Regions from separate parts of the Homo sapiens genome. Here regions 1, 2, 3 and 4 are each linked to region 5. Evidence: promoter capture Hi-C in 16 types of primary human blood cells and fetal thymus (Javierre and others, 2016). All regions are on one chromosome and are shown on one strand. Each heading gives the region's core, a stretch centred on a gene start or on the middle of the fragment in contact. The rest is flanking DNA. Distances are from core to core; before and after follow the strand shown.

Region 1 (2,700 bases), core at 74-2,573, 420 kb before region 5:
AAAGTGAGTTAATCAATTATTATTATTATTATTTTTTTTTTTTTGAGACGGAGCCTCCCTCGCCCAGGCTGGAGTGCAGTGCCGGGATCTCGGCTCACTGCAAGCTCCGCCTTCCGGGTTCACGCCATTCTCCTGCCTCAGCCTCCCTAGTAGCTGGGACTACAGGCGCCTGTCACTGCGCCCAGCTAATTTTTTGTATTTTTAGTAGAGATGGGGTTTCACCGTGGTCTCGATCTCCTGACCTCGTGATCCGCCCGCCTTGGCCTCCCAAAGTGCTGGGATTACAGGCATGAGCCACCGCGCCCGGCGAGTTAATCACTTATGTCTTTAGATGAATGCACATTTACACGTAGACATATAGCTTAGAAGGTATATAAGCTCTGGAAAGCTTTGTAATTTTAAGTTGGTCTGGTGATAATTTCCAGGCCTTCTCCCTGTAACTGGTTGCAGAAATAAAAACTCGCTTCCTCTCCAGTTCATCTGCATCTCCTTACTGAACCAGGAGAAACAGCAGCCTGACGCTCAGTTTGGTCCAGGAACAGGTGGTGGAGGGCTCTCGAACTTTTTTCTTTTTTTTTTTTTTTTTTTGAGATGGAGTCTCGCTCTGTCGCCCAGGCTGGGGTGCAGTGGCGCGATCTCGGCTTACTGCAAGCTCCGCCTCCTGGGTTCACGCCATTCTCCTGCCTCAGCCTCATGAGTAGCTGGGACTACAGGCGCCCGCCACTACGCCCCGCTAACTTTTTTTGTATTTTTAGTAGAGATGGGGTTTCACCGTGTTAGCCAGGATGGTCTCGATCTCCTGACCTTGTGATCCGCCCGCCTCGGCCTCCCAAAGTGCTGGGATTACAGGCTGAGCCACAGCGCCCGGCTCTCTCGAACTTTTTTGGCAGATTTTTGCTGTTGATCAGCCCCGCTTCCCCAACTTTCCCCTGGGTCTCTCTCCCCCGGGAGTTTCTGGTTCCTCTGCGATTAATCACAGCCAAGTCTAGCTGGTTCTTCAGGACGGAGAATAAATAGGATAAACAGGAGCAGCCGAACCCTAACTTTGAGAGCTTTCTCCCCTCCTCTCCTAACTTCCCAGTCAGTGACTCGGAAGACTTTAACAGCAACAGCTGCCTCCTCTTGCCAGCTTGATCCCACCTGCTAAGTGAAGGAACAGCGTTTAAAGAGGTGGCAATCGGCAAGGGTGGATGCTTCCCTTTCCGCGCAGGCGCGTTCAGTCGCAGCACCGCGACTATCGTGATAGACAAGCGAGATCGACGCTGGCCCTTTAATAGCCCTTTCCCGGGGTCCTGCCCCGCGCGTGCGCACTGTGGTTCTGCGCTTGTCATCATGGCGACGCGGGGCCATGTGCAGGACCCTAACGACAGGCGCCTCCGGCCCATTTACGGTGAGTGTCTTGGACCAGCCCGCTCGCCAGCCCGACGCGCCGAGGGCTGCCGAGGCTGGGGCGAAAGCCCAGGAGGGGTGCTGAGGGCCGGCGCGCGGGCCGGGCAGGCGCAGGGGGGCGGGCCGCGCGGGCCACTAGGCCGCAGCCGCGGGCCTCGCGTAGGCGCCGGCCCAACCTTCCTCAGCCTTGGGGTGGTAGTGGCGCGGTCTGGGCAGCAGCTGGTCGGCAGAGCTGGCCTGCTTGGCAGGCCCCGTGGGACGCGTGGTTCTGCAGACACCTGCGCTACCCGCAGGCTGCATCGTTACCGCCGCTCCTAGGGAGACCGGAGATCTCCCCGAAGGTGGAAGCCGGCTCCGGCACGAGGGTGGGACGCCCTGCCTGAGGGAAGATTCCCTACCAGAGATTTTTTTTTATTTACGGGAATTGGGCCTAGAGGGTTGTCTGACTAGGTGGGCTTCGGTGCATAGGAGAAACTGAGGTCCGGAGTGGGGAAGGGGCTGACGCAAGGTCACCCAGATCGAGTCAGGAGCAGGCCCGAGATTCCAGGCTCCCAATCCAGAGCTGTTGGGTGGAGAAGCAGCTACTCTGGTCACACGTGGGAGGCGGGGGGAGGGGGTCTTGGGCCTAAAATAGCGGTGAAGAGATTGTGATAGCTCGTGTCAGAGGGGCATGCAGAGCTACTGGAGGGCTTCTCCTTTCTGCAGCTTCTCTGTGGTTTTCTCTGCAGCTTTCCTTCCCTGTGCTAAGCAGATCCCTCTCCACAACTCTTACCTCAACCCGCAGACTTGAAGACCTTGATGTCATCTCATCCATTTACCCTGGTAGTGAAAAATCACAGATTTTGAGTTTGGGAGAAACCCTTTTCCAATAACCGAAATGTGTAATTGGATTGGTCCTTTTTGCATTTCCTTTCCTCTTAGATGGTTTTATGGTCTTGGTCTATCTCACTTAATGGTGAGGAAGCTTCAAGGTCAGTGGTTTTTACAAAAGTAGACATCGTATTTATAGACCTCATGTGGATGTTACTAAATTGGAGGCTTCTCTCCAAGGTGGGAATCGTTTTGGGAGCGGGGGGCGGTGGTTAACTTTGTTTCTGGCCACAGTTAGTCCGGCTTTTATTTCATAATTTGTGTGATTTTTTTTTTTACTCTCACATCTCATTTGATTTTAGCAACAATCCTATAGCTAAGGTTTATAGATGACTCATTATGACAGTCACTGGCCTTGGCCTTTTATATGGGTTATCTAATATAATCTTCACCCATTCTCAAGAGGTGGCTACTGTTTTTTCCTGCCCCTGAACCCTTTAA
Region 2 (2,700 bases), core at 85-2,584, 360 kb before region 5:
TTCTAAAACCTAGCATGGATGAGCTATAAACCTATGAATTTTCATTGTGTGTTCAAGTATCTGTACTTGCCCTCCTGTTTTCAAGAGGTTTCACTAACTCAAAAAAAAAATCAAAAGGATTGGTTTCCTCATCTCATTATTTATGGCCTCATTTCTGTATTTATAAGAGAGATGAAAGAAACATTTGATTTACTGAAGATTCCTTTTCAAAGGTTTGTTTCTCAAATAGCTTTGAGGTAGTGGGAGTAAATCAGGGATTAATTCCAGCCCGGTGGCTGGTTTTCCTCTAGCTTTCAATCATGCAGCATTCTAGAAGAACTGTATTACTCATGAAGATGTGGTCAATAAAGACACATTACTTTATATACATCAGAATTAGGCTTTAATTTTTTCCCACAAATATTGTGTCTGAAGAGTTGTTTTGAAAGAAAATCTAAAAATAAAATTACAAAAGTGTTGCAATATAGGCAAAGGAGACCCCTAGGAGCAATTTGAGGGGATGTGTCATCCTCAGAGTTTTTTTTGTATCTTTGTTTTATGTTTTGCTGATGGTTGTGTGTGGCAAAAGTGACTAATTCATCTGAATGTATGTGATGTTGAACCTGATAAAATTATAGCATTTTATTGATCAGAGACTAGGACACTTGAAATATATTTTGATTACCGCTAAGAAGATAGAGCTTATTAAATCTGCTGACAGGAGATAATCTTGAAGAGTCCTAGAGGCAAAAGAAAAATACAGTACAGGCTGGGCACAGTGGCTCACGCTTGTAATCCAAGCACTGGGAGGCCGAGGTGGGTGGATCACCTGAGGTCAGGAGTTCAAGACCAGCCTGGCCAACGTGGTGAAACCCCATCTCTACTAAAAATACAAAAATTAGCCAGGCATGGTGGTAGGTGCCTGTAATCCCAGCTACTCGGCAGGCTGAGGCAGGAGAATTGCTTGACCCGGGAGGTGGAGGTTGCAGTGAGCTGATTGTACCATTATACTCCAGCCTGGGTGACGAGAGAGACTCTGTCCCCCCACCAAAAAAGAAAAATATGGTACAGCTAGGAACATGTAGCTTGACCTTAATGTTGAGTGCCAGATAGAGACTGTGGTGTGAACTGTTTCCTAAAGAAATCTAAGGCTAAGAAAGATTATGATTGTAGTGTCTTACTGTGTGTGTTCAACCTTGTGCTTAGAGTATCAGAAATATCTCTCTTCAAATCCAGAGCTCTATACTATGCATCTTTTATTCTTGGTAGTTTTTGGGATCCCCGGATGCTTTTTCCTTGGGTGACTGATGCATTTCAATTCCCACCTAGCTCTTTGACAGGACACTTTTACTTAAATGGAAAATCTAGTGTTTTGCTTAGTAATGTTTTGTGCTATGGGATTGAAAGTTGTATTTGGAAGGTCTGCATAGGGATTTTCTTTCTAGAAAGGTTATTTTCTGTTGTCATCTTACTTTGGAATAGATTTTTAAAAATATGAAAATAAGCACTAGATTTTCATATCTTTAAAAGTCACTTACGTGTTTTTACTTCTTAAAAATTTCCCTTTAAAATCTCTATTTTATACAAAAATTATCTGGGTGTGTTGGCGAGCGCCTGTAATTCCAGCTACTTGGGAGGCTGAGTCAGGAGACTTGCTTGAATCTGGGAGGTGGAGGTTGCAGTGAGCTGAGATCATACCACTGCACTCCAGCTGTCACTCTTGGATGACAGAGTGAGACTCTGTCTCAAAAAAAAAAAAAAGTAAATAAAAGAAAATATAATCTCTAGGTATTCACAAAGGTCATTATTCAGGGGTTTTATGTCCATATATTTCACTAATTTTTACAGTGACCAGGGTTCATTTCAGGAATCCATTCGGGATCTAAATAGCCTCATTGGTGCATAAATGAGTAGAAAATAGGTACGGACAACATACTTTGATATTCAAAAGTCTTTAAAGTGCCTGTGGCTTTCAGTTTTGCCTGCAGTTCCAGTAGGGGGTTGTTTCTTCACGTAGTACTACTTCCACAGCCTTGGTCCTAGTGGTTGCATCCCAGGCCCTTGTCTAGCTCTGCAGTGGTACTTTACTGCAGTGTTACAGAAGGACTATCTAAAAAAGATAAGCCAGAGAACTGTGACTACCTTCTTAGTTTGTTAAAGACTATACTCTCTTTGTTGCCCCTTATTTTTCTCTTTGAAAAGCTATTGCCTTTTTTTTTTTTTTTTTTAAATAAAGTGGTGTTCCACGGACCACTTAGAAATTAAAACTGCCTCTACACTTGGTAAGGCTGGGTTCCCTCCTTAAATCATAGCATACTTTGGAACTGTAATTATAACTTTGATTGGAATTACTAAAGTCATATTTTCTTTTTGATTAATTACTGAATCATGTGTTCCTAACCAGCTGTTTTTTTTTCCCCAGCTGTAAGTTCCTATTACAAGGGCTAATAGTAGTAAACCTTGCTGTGTTTTCTAAGCCAAGGGGCCATAGGATAGGCATATGTGTTTAGAGTATCCTGGCCTCCTCTTGATAGGGTGTATCACTGTCCTTTAATCAAGCTAGAAGGTATACTCGAGCTTTTTCAGGTAGTCCTTCTTGAAACCTGCAGGATCACAAGTAATCTTTTTAATTTTCTTGTGTCCGTCCGTCTTTAATTTCTCCAGATACTGCAGGCAAACAGCTCGCCGAGGTGTCCCATGGGGGTTTAAAAGCCGCATCGA
Region 3 (2,700 bases), core at 54-2,553, 440 kb before region 5:
TGTAATCCCAGCTACTCGCGAGGCTGAGGCAGGAGAATCGCTTCAACCAGGGAGTCAGAAGTTGCAGTGAGCCAAGATCGTGCCACTGCACTCCACCCTAGCGACAGAGTAAGACTCCGTCTCAAAAATAAATAAATAAATAAAAATAAAATAACATCCCTTACAGACTTCATCCAATTACCCTAAAAGCATCATAACAATAGTAAAATTATCAAATAGAGGAAATTAACACTAATACAATACTAGTAACTAATCTATAGAATTCATTCAAATTTCACCAACAAGTCAGGCACAGGGGCTCATGCCTGTACTCCCAGAACTTTGGGAGGCTGAGCTGAAGAGGATCGCTTGAACCCAGGAGTTTAAGATCAGCCTGGGCAACATGGTGAAACCCTTCTCTACAAACAATTTAAAAATTAGCCAGACGTGGTGGCACACACCTGTGGTCCCAACTACTCAGAAGGCTGAGATGGGAAGATCACTTAAGCCCAGGAGGTCAAAGCTGCAGTGAGCAGTGATTGTACCACTGCACCCTAGCCTGGGTGACAGAGTGAGATCCTGTCTCAAAAAAAAAAAAAAAAAAAAAAAAAATCACCATCCCACCCTTTTTCTGGTTCAGCATTCAATCTAGGATCACACACTGCATTTGGCTATTACTTGTAGTTAATCTCCTTTGATTTGGGAGAGTTCTTCAGTCTTTCCTTCTCTTTCATGACCTTGTTAAGCATACTGGCTTTTTTTTTTTTTTTTTTTTTAAACAGAGTCTCACTCTGCTGTCTAGGCTGGAGTGCAGTGGTGCGATCTCGGCTCACTGCGATCTCGGCTCACTGCAACCTCGACCTCAGCCTCCTGAGTAGCTGGGACCACAGGTGTGCACCACCATGCCCAGCTAATTTTTGTATTTTCAGTAGAGATGGAGTTTCACCATGTTGACCAGGCTGGTCTCAAACTCCTGACCTCATATGATCCACCAGCCAGCCTCAGCCTCCCAAAGTGCTGGGATTACAGGCATGAGTCACCGTGCCCAGCCAGCTAGTTATTTTATATAATATCCTTCAATTTGGGTTTGTCTGATATTTTCTCATGATTAAATTCAGGTTATATATTTTTGGCAAGAACACCATAGAAATCATGTTGTGCTCATCTCAGTGCCTTATATCAGAAGGTACATGATGTCAACAGTCTTATTTTACTATTGATGTAAACCATGATCACATAGTTGATATGGTGTCTGCCAAATTTCTTCACTATAAAGTTTCTCCTGCTTTTTAAACAAGATGTCAATGCAGAAAGCAAAGCACTGGCAACTTTACTACCATTGTTTAGTTTAGATTATTCCTTTCCATGATACAAAAATGGTCTTAAATCCTGCCCCCAGTAGGGTTCTTTAAAGGTTTTGGCATTATCAAGCGAGTTGCCACTTTTCAAAACATGTATTTAGTCATTTGTTCAACATGCTTAATTAAGACAATACTTTGAGGCTGGGTCCAGTGGCTCATGCCTGTAATCCCAGCACTTTGGGAGGCTGAGGTGGGCGGATCACTTGAGGTCAGGAGTTCAAGACCAGCCTGGCCAGCATGGCGAAACACCTCTCTACTAAAAATAAAAAAATTAGCCGGGTGCCTGTAGTCCCAGCTACTAGGGAGGCTGAAGCAGAATTGCTTGAACCCGGGAGGTGGAGGTTGCAGTAAGCCAGGATCACACCACTGCACCCCAGCCTGGGCAACAGAGTGAGCCTCTGTCTCAAAAAATAAAAATAAAAAAAAAAAGGACAATACTGTGGGCCAGGTGCAGTGTCTCACACCTGTAATCCCAGCACTCTGGAAGGCTGGGGTGGGTGGATCACTTGAGCTCAGGAGTTCAAGGCCAGCCAGGAAACATAGTAAGACCCTGCCTTTATAAAAAATAAGCAGCCGGGTGCGGTGGTTCATGCCTGTAATCCCAGCACTTTGGGAGGCCGAGACAGGTGGATCACAAGGTCAGGAGATCGAGACCATCCTGCCTAACATGGTGAAACCCAGTCTCTACTAAAAAGAGCTTGCAGTGAGCCGAGATCACGCCACTGCACTCCAGCCTGGGCGACAGAGCGAGACTCCCTCTCAAAAAAAACAAAAAACAAAAAAGCAAAAAATTAGGTGGGTATGGTGGCACATGCCTGTAATCTCAGCTACTTGGGAGGCTGGGGTGGGAGGCTGAGGTAGTCCCAGCTACTTGGGAGGCTTGAGCCCAGGAGGTCGAGGCTACAGTGAGTGAGTTGTGATCACACCACTGCACTCCAGCCGGGGTGACAGAGTGAGACCCTGTCTCAAAGAAAAAGAAGACCATACTGTGTGCCACTGTGCCCTGGCACTAAAAATACTTTACAAAATAAGGAAATATAGTCTCTGATAAAGCGATTTAGTGGTAGAGAAAAACAATAAGCAAAAAAATACATATAACTTGAGTATTGTGATGGAAAAGTATACTGACAAATAAATGGGGGCGGAATAGAGGCAAATCTACTTTAGGTAGATAAGAGTGGTCAGGGAAGAACTTTCTGGGGAGACGACATTTAAATTAAGAACTGAAGTACAAGAGCCAACCACGAAAAGACAAAGATAGAGGATGGGAATGCGGGGAAATCCATCCAGGCAGTGGGAAGGGCAAAAGGCCTAAAAGCAATGAAAGAGAAAGTAAAGGCAGATCTGGAAGAGCATAATA
Region 4 (2,700 bases), core at 133-2,632, 330 kb before region 5:
AGATGAGAGGGAAGCCAGGAGTCAGGTCATATAGAACTTAGGCTACTGTGTGGAGACTCAAGAGTGGAAGCAGGGAGACCAGAGAAGAGGCTATTGTAATGTTGACCTAGACTAGGGTGGTAATAGTAGAAAACACTGTTAGCTTTATGGCGCAAAGTTTCCCTTTGGGTCACACTTGTTCTGTGATATTATCTGATTCCCATGGAGCAGGGTGGGGTAGGGGTGTCATTTTGCCAGTAAAGGCCCCCAAAGCATAGGGTGCTGTAGGGTGTGTCTGAGCATGCCTGACAACCAATCAGCCACACCTACACCATTTTTTTTTTTTTTGAGACAGAGTTTTGCTCTTGTTGCCCAGGCTGGAGTGTCATGGCATGATGACGGCTTACTGCAACCTCCACCTCCCAGGTTCAAGCAATTCTCCTGCCTCAGCCTCCCGAGTAGCTGGGATTACAGGCACCCGCCACCACGCCCAGCTAATTTTTGTATTTTTAGTAGAGACAGGGTTTCACCATGTTGGCCAGGCTGGTCTCCAACTCCTGACCTCAGGTGATCTACCTGCCTCAGCCTCCCAAAGTGCCGGGATTACAAGCATGAGCCACCGCACCCAGCCCACACTTTTTTTTTTTTTTTTGAGACGGAGTATTTGCTCTGTCGCCCAGGCTGGAGTGCAGTGGCGTGATCTTGGCTCACCGCAACCTCCGCCTCCTGGGTTCAAGCAATTCTCCTGTCTAAGCCTCCCGAGGAGCTGGGACTACAGGTGTCCACCACCACGCCCAGCTAATTTTTGTATTTTTAGTAGGGACGGGGTTTCACCTTGTTGGTCAGGCTGGTCTCAAACTCCTGACCTCAGGTGATCTACCCGCCTCAGCCTCCCAAAGTGCTGGGATTACAGGCGTGAGCCACTAAGCCCGGCCTACACTTTTAAATTCTTGAAACTTTGCCTTGAATGAGCTGCAAGTGCCAAATCCACGACAGGGAACGCTTGAAAATAGGAGACTTCAACCACTGGAGACAACTACTTCTTGGTTTCACTTCCCCACAATGAGTACAAAACCTGAAAATGAAATGACTGGCTCTCTCGCAACACTAAGCTTGCCCATCTCCTAGAGGAAGTTAAAAGCTGCTCGTGGGTGAAGACAGGTGCAAGAGGAGGGGACTGGGACTGCGGTGTTGCATTCAGCCACCATTTCCAACCGTCCATTTACTCAGGCCAGGATCCCTAATTCTGCAAAAATGGAAGGGGGGAAAGGCGGAGGTAGTGGCAAATTCTTCCATGCCTTGACCCAATTTTACTGATTTTGTTGCCAACCCCAAGATGTTTCCTACAACAGCTATCCCCAACCTTTTTGGCACCAAGAACTGGTTTCATGGAAGACAACTTTTCCACGGGGTTGGGTGGTTTCGACATGAACCTGTTTCGCCTCAGATCATCAGGCATTAGATTCTGATAAGAAGCACACAACCTGGATCCCTCACATGCGTAGTTCACAATAAAGGTCGTGCTCCTATGAGAATGTAATGCCGCAGCTGATGTAACAGGAGGCGGAGCTCAGGCTGTAGTGCTAGCTCGCCTGCCGCTCACCTCCTGCTGTGCGGCCCGGTTTCTAACAGGCCACCGACGGGCCTGGTGGTTGGGGACCCCTGCTTTACAGGGTGGCTGAACTGAAGCTTATTCTTCACGCTTGCACTATTCAAGATGTATGATATCTGATCATTGTTTGCACACTGCAAAGCAGGCTGCAATCCAACCCTGGGAAGAGGGGCGCGGACACGCAGGCTAACGCGCCTGCATTTCCCCCCGCCAACCCCTCCCAGCTTCCACAGCCGGGAGCCCGGTGGCGTCGACCTCGCACCGCCCTCCGGTTCTCCCACTTGGGACTCGAGGGTTGGATCTCGCCAGGCACCGCCCTCTCCCCACAGGTGAAGGGAAGGGGCACCCAGTTCCCTCGGCTGCATCTTTGCAAGGGTGGATGCAAGTATAAATGCTGCAAAAGCAAGGGTGCGCCGGGGCCCTGAAGCGTGCATGCCCGGTGGTCATAACATTCTCCGCTCAGAGTCCACTAGGCCTGTAGGACGCCGGGAAGCTCTGGGACCGTTGCTACAGACCACCTCCCGTCAGCTCCCGGAATCCAGCGTCTCCCCACGGGCGCGCGCTCTTCCGGGCGCCCCGGCGGCACCTGCGCGCGACGTCCCCCGCCCCGGTTACCTTGTAGAAAGTGACCGTATCCAGGGGAAGGGCGCCCTTGGTGTGCAGGCCGCTGCCGCCATGCGGAGCGGAGAGGAGCAGGAAGCCCAGGAGAAGGGGAAGCAGCGGGGAGAGAAATGCGGCGCGGGGCACAGCGGCAGCCATATCGCCGGGTTCCTGCAGAGGGAGGTAGGTAAGCGATAGTGGAGAACGCCCCGAGTCAGCGGTCACGTGACTGGGGGGGCGGACTCACGCGCGCTCACGTGGACACCCCAGGAGGCTCCCATCTGTCTAGGGTGAGAGGGTGGGGCCACGTGAGGGGCGGGGCGAGGGAGGGGAAGCTGCTGCGCACGCGTACTCGGCGAAGCTCGCGTAGGGCCTGGGTAAAAGGGCGGGGCCACGTTGCGGGCGGGAAAATGGGCTCCTGCGCGCGCGCACTCGCCGAGTCTTCCGGCGGGTCCGCCCAGTTCCGTTCCTGCTCCGCTTGAGGAGAAGCGCCAAGTGCGCATGGGGAC
Region 5 (2,700 bases), core at 83-2,582:
GGAAACGTATTTCATAGGATGTAGTCACAAGATCTATATACGCATGTATCTTGTGGTCATGTCATAGTCCAGATACACACACATCTAGAACGCACTATGTCCACACACACACACATCTAGAATGTACTATGTACTTACATATGTATCATTATACAATGTACCTAGAGTAGCATCCTGTCATGTATGTGTCCCATATGCATTGATTGTGTCAGTATCTACATACAAAAGCCACTCTGACATACTGGAAAGAATGCTGAGCCTCAGAAAAGCTAATGTTATCTCCATATACATAATTCCATTTCATCCTCACAACTGCATGAGGACATGATATCATGCCAACTTTATGCAATGACTATACTAGTTCAAGACTGCACAACTGCTGATGTAGGTCAACCTCATAGTACGGACAGGAACTGTGTTTATCTTATACGCCAACGTATCTCAAGCATCCCAAGGGTGTCTAGACTCTCAGTAAACATTTGTGAAGTGACAGGGTGGGGAGGAGGACCCCGGTCTAACTGCAGCACTATGCTCGTAACCAGCAGATCACCATCTTTTCTCTCTTTTTTTTGAGACGGAGTTTCGCTCTTGTTGCCCAGGCGGGAGTGCACTAGCACTATCTCGACTCACTGCAACCTCCGCCTCCCGGGTTCAAGCGATTCTCCTGTCTCAGCCTCCCAAGTAGCTTGGACTACAGACGCGCGCCACCAAGCCCGGCTAATTTTTTGTATGTTCAGTAGAGACGAGGTTTCACCATGTTGGCCAGGTTGGTCTCGAACTGCTGACCTGAGGTGATTCGCCCGCCTAAGCCTCTGGGCTGGGATTACAGGCGTGAGCCACCGCGCCCAGCCAGATCGCTATCTGAACAGCGATCGACTCTCCACTCTCTACGGCCCCTTAGAAGGAACTTCACCTCTCTGAGCCTCGTTGTACCTATCTGTAAAGTGGGACAGAAACAAAACCATCCAGACTAGGGTTAGAGACAGGAGTCAAACACAACAAAAGGGGCAAAGTTCTGCATAGCAGATAGCTCGGACAATTCGGAGACCTCGCGGAGCCAGGGATCCCGCGCCGTCAGCCGAGGTGGATTAGGACGAGGCCTCTGGAGCAAGCAGAGGTTAACTCGCGACTGTGCGAAAACCTGCAGCTCAGCCTAAGTGTGGCACCCCAGCGCAAGCAATCTCCACGACGTCCTTCCGCTCCGACCTCCTCAAAATTGCGTCCGGAAGAGCAGTGGGTGACCCCTGCCACGCCGCCCAATCGCTGTGCGCGGTCCTGCGCGCATGCGTAAACCGCAGGTCAGCGACGGCGGCCGGGAGGCGGAAGTGGAGGTTGTTGTGGCTCCGAGGGCTGTTCGAGGAGCTGCTGCTGCTGAGGCGGCGGCAACTGCATTGAGGTGGTGGCGGCGCTGCCGGCCCCGGGCCGCTCGGCCTCTCGGCTCGCCTTCCAGCCTCGCCTGAGCCCGCCGGGGCCCGCGCCGGCCAGCGCCTGCCCTATGAGTGTGTCACTGGTTGTTATCCGATTGGAGCTCGCGGAACACTCGCCTGTCCCCGCCGGCTTCGGCTTCAGCGCCGCGGGTGAGTCCCGCGGCCTCGCCGCATTCCCTGTAGCCGGGTCTGGGCCCGGAGGGCTTCCCTTCCCAAAGCACTGGCCCGGGAAAAGCCCGCGGCGAGGGCTGTTGCCCAGGAAGACACGGAGAGGTAATCGGGATCCCTCTCTTTCCCATCCGCCTTTGAGAGGCCTTCCCGTTTGTTATCTCAGGGAAGCCCTGCCCCGAACCTCCCTCCCTGTGCCGTCTGAGGGCATTTAGTTTATACCTGGCGCGTCTCCCTCTCGAGATAGTCGAGTGGTGTGTTTGTCTCACTTGCTTCCCTATGGGCTTCGTAAAGGCAGGGACTGGGTCCCCAGCAACGCTGGACGGTCCCTGGGTTAATTAAATTGTTCCCTTTTGGAACGATATCCATTGAAGTGCCCCCTAACCATAGTCATAACTAAAATTTGGACACTTCCTATATCCCAGCACTGTACTAAGCACCTTTTGTGTATTGTATTCTTTAATTATCTTTGCAACAGCCCTAAGAGGCAGATGGATGTGACATGTACCTCTTACACATTGGGAAACTGAAGCTTAGTGATTAATTGATTTGCCCAAGGTTATCTGTAATGGGTGAAACTGGGATTCTAACTCAGTGAGCTGGACTTGAGTCTGAGCTTTTTACACCATTAACACAAGTGAGGAAGCTCCTTAGTGGGGAATGCAGCTCTGGCTCTGTTCCTTGGTCCTCAGATAATTAACTAACATTCATTCAAGAAATACTTGGCCGGGCGCGGTGGCTCACGCCTGTAATCCTCACACTTTGGGAGGCCGAGGCGGGCGGGTCACCTGAGGTTGAGAGTTCAAGACCAGCCTGGCCAACATGGTGAAACCCTGTCTGTACTAAAAATACAAAAATTAGCTGGGCGTGGTGACAGGTGCCTGTAATCCCAGCTACTGGGGAGGCTGAGGCAGGAGAATCGCTTGAACCCGGGAGGTGGAGGTTGCGGTGAGCCAAGATTGTGGCACTGCACTCCAGCCTGGGCGACAAGAGATAAAGTCCATTTCAAAAAAAAAAACAAAAAAAAAACTTATGCTCATATCTGCTGGAGCCTTCCTTGTGTGCTGAATCAGACAGCGTCTCTGTTTTAATGGCACCAGCAGTA

Evidence for each region. Contacts are between HindIII fragments. The CHiCAGO score rates a contact against its expected background, and 5 or more counts as called.
Region 1: a contact is called between the fragment with the promoter of NAA25 here and the fragment with the promoter of BRAP in region 5, in 1 of 17 cell types (fetal thymus). The highest score is 5.0, in fetal thymus.
Region 2: a fragment that was not itself captured here is called in contact with the fragment with the promoter of BRAP in region 5 in 1 of 17 cell types (M2 macrophages); the score reaches 5.4 in M2 macrophages.
Region 3: a contact is called between a fragment that was not itself captured here and the fragment with the promoter of BRAP in region 5, in 1 of 17 cell types (non-activated CD4 T cells). The highest score is 5.5, in non-activated CD4 T cells.
Region 4: a contact is called between a fragment that was not itself captured here and the fragment with the promoter of BRAP in region 5, in 1 of 17 cell types (fetal thymus). The highest score is 5.3, in fetal thymus.

Annotation. Positions count from the first base shown.
Region 1 is chr12:112,107,406-112,110,105 of GRCh38, reverse strand. NAA25 (N-alpha-acetyltransferase 25, NatB auxiliary subunit) reads left to right here and starts at 1,323. Exons shown (of 24, transcript NM_024953.4): 1 at 1,323-1,390. The coding sequence starts at 1,333. RefSeq lists silencers at 1,374-1,453, 1,474-1,553. The HindIII fragment of the contact is 1,965 bases long and covers 391-2,355 here.
Region 2 is chr12:112,049,555-112,052,254 of GRCh38, reverse strand. The region is part of intron 15 of NAA25 (N-alpha-acetyltransferase 25, NatB auxiliary subunit); the gene reads left to right. All of the region lies in intron 1 of LOC124903022 (a long non-coding RNA gene), which reads right to left. Among named protein-coding and RNA genes, the nearest start is that of MIR3657, 13 kb to the right of the region's middle. The HindIII fragment of the contact is 5,003 bases long and covers 1-2,700 here.
Region 3 is chr12:112,127,085-112,129,784 of GRCh38, reverse strand. All of the region lies in intron 1 of TRAFD1 (TRAF-type zinc finger domain containing 1), which reads right to left. Among named protein-coding and RNA genes, the nearest start is that of TRAFD1, 2.9 kb to the right of the region's middle. The HindIII fragment of the contact is 4,265 bases long and covers 1-2,700 here.
Region 4 is chr12:112,013,116-112,015,815 of GRCh38, reverse strand. ERP29 (endoplasmic reticulum protein 29) reads right to left here and starts at 2,390. Exons shown (of 3, transcript NM_006817.4): 1 at 2,207-2,390. The coding sequence starts at 2,350. TMEM116 (transmembrane protein 116) reads left to right here and starts at 2,651. Exons shown (of 11, transcript NM_001193531.2): 1 at 2,651-2,700. RefSeq lists an enhancer at 917-1,056 and silencers at 2,057-2,146, 2,487-2,566. The HindIII fragment of the contact is 577 bases long and covers 1,094-1,670 here.
Region 5 is chr12:111,684,588-111,687,287 of GRCh38, reverse strand. It overlaps BRAP (BRCA1 associated protein), which reads left to right and starts at 1,332. Exons shown (of 12, transcript NM_006768.5): 1 at 1,332-1,577. The coding sequence starts at 1,496. It overlaps ACAD10 (acyl-CoA dehydrogenase family member 10), which reads right to left and starts at 1,235. Exons shown (of 21, transcript NM_025247.6): 1 at 1,049-1,235. RefSeq lists a silencer at 1,460-1,559 and enhancers at 904-1,605, 1,606-2,307, 2,308-2,700. The HindIII fragment of the contact is 2,811 bases long and covers 1-2,129 here.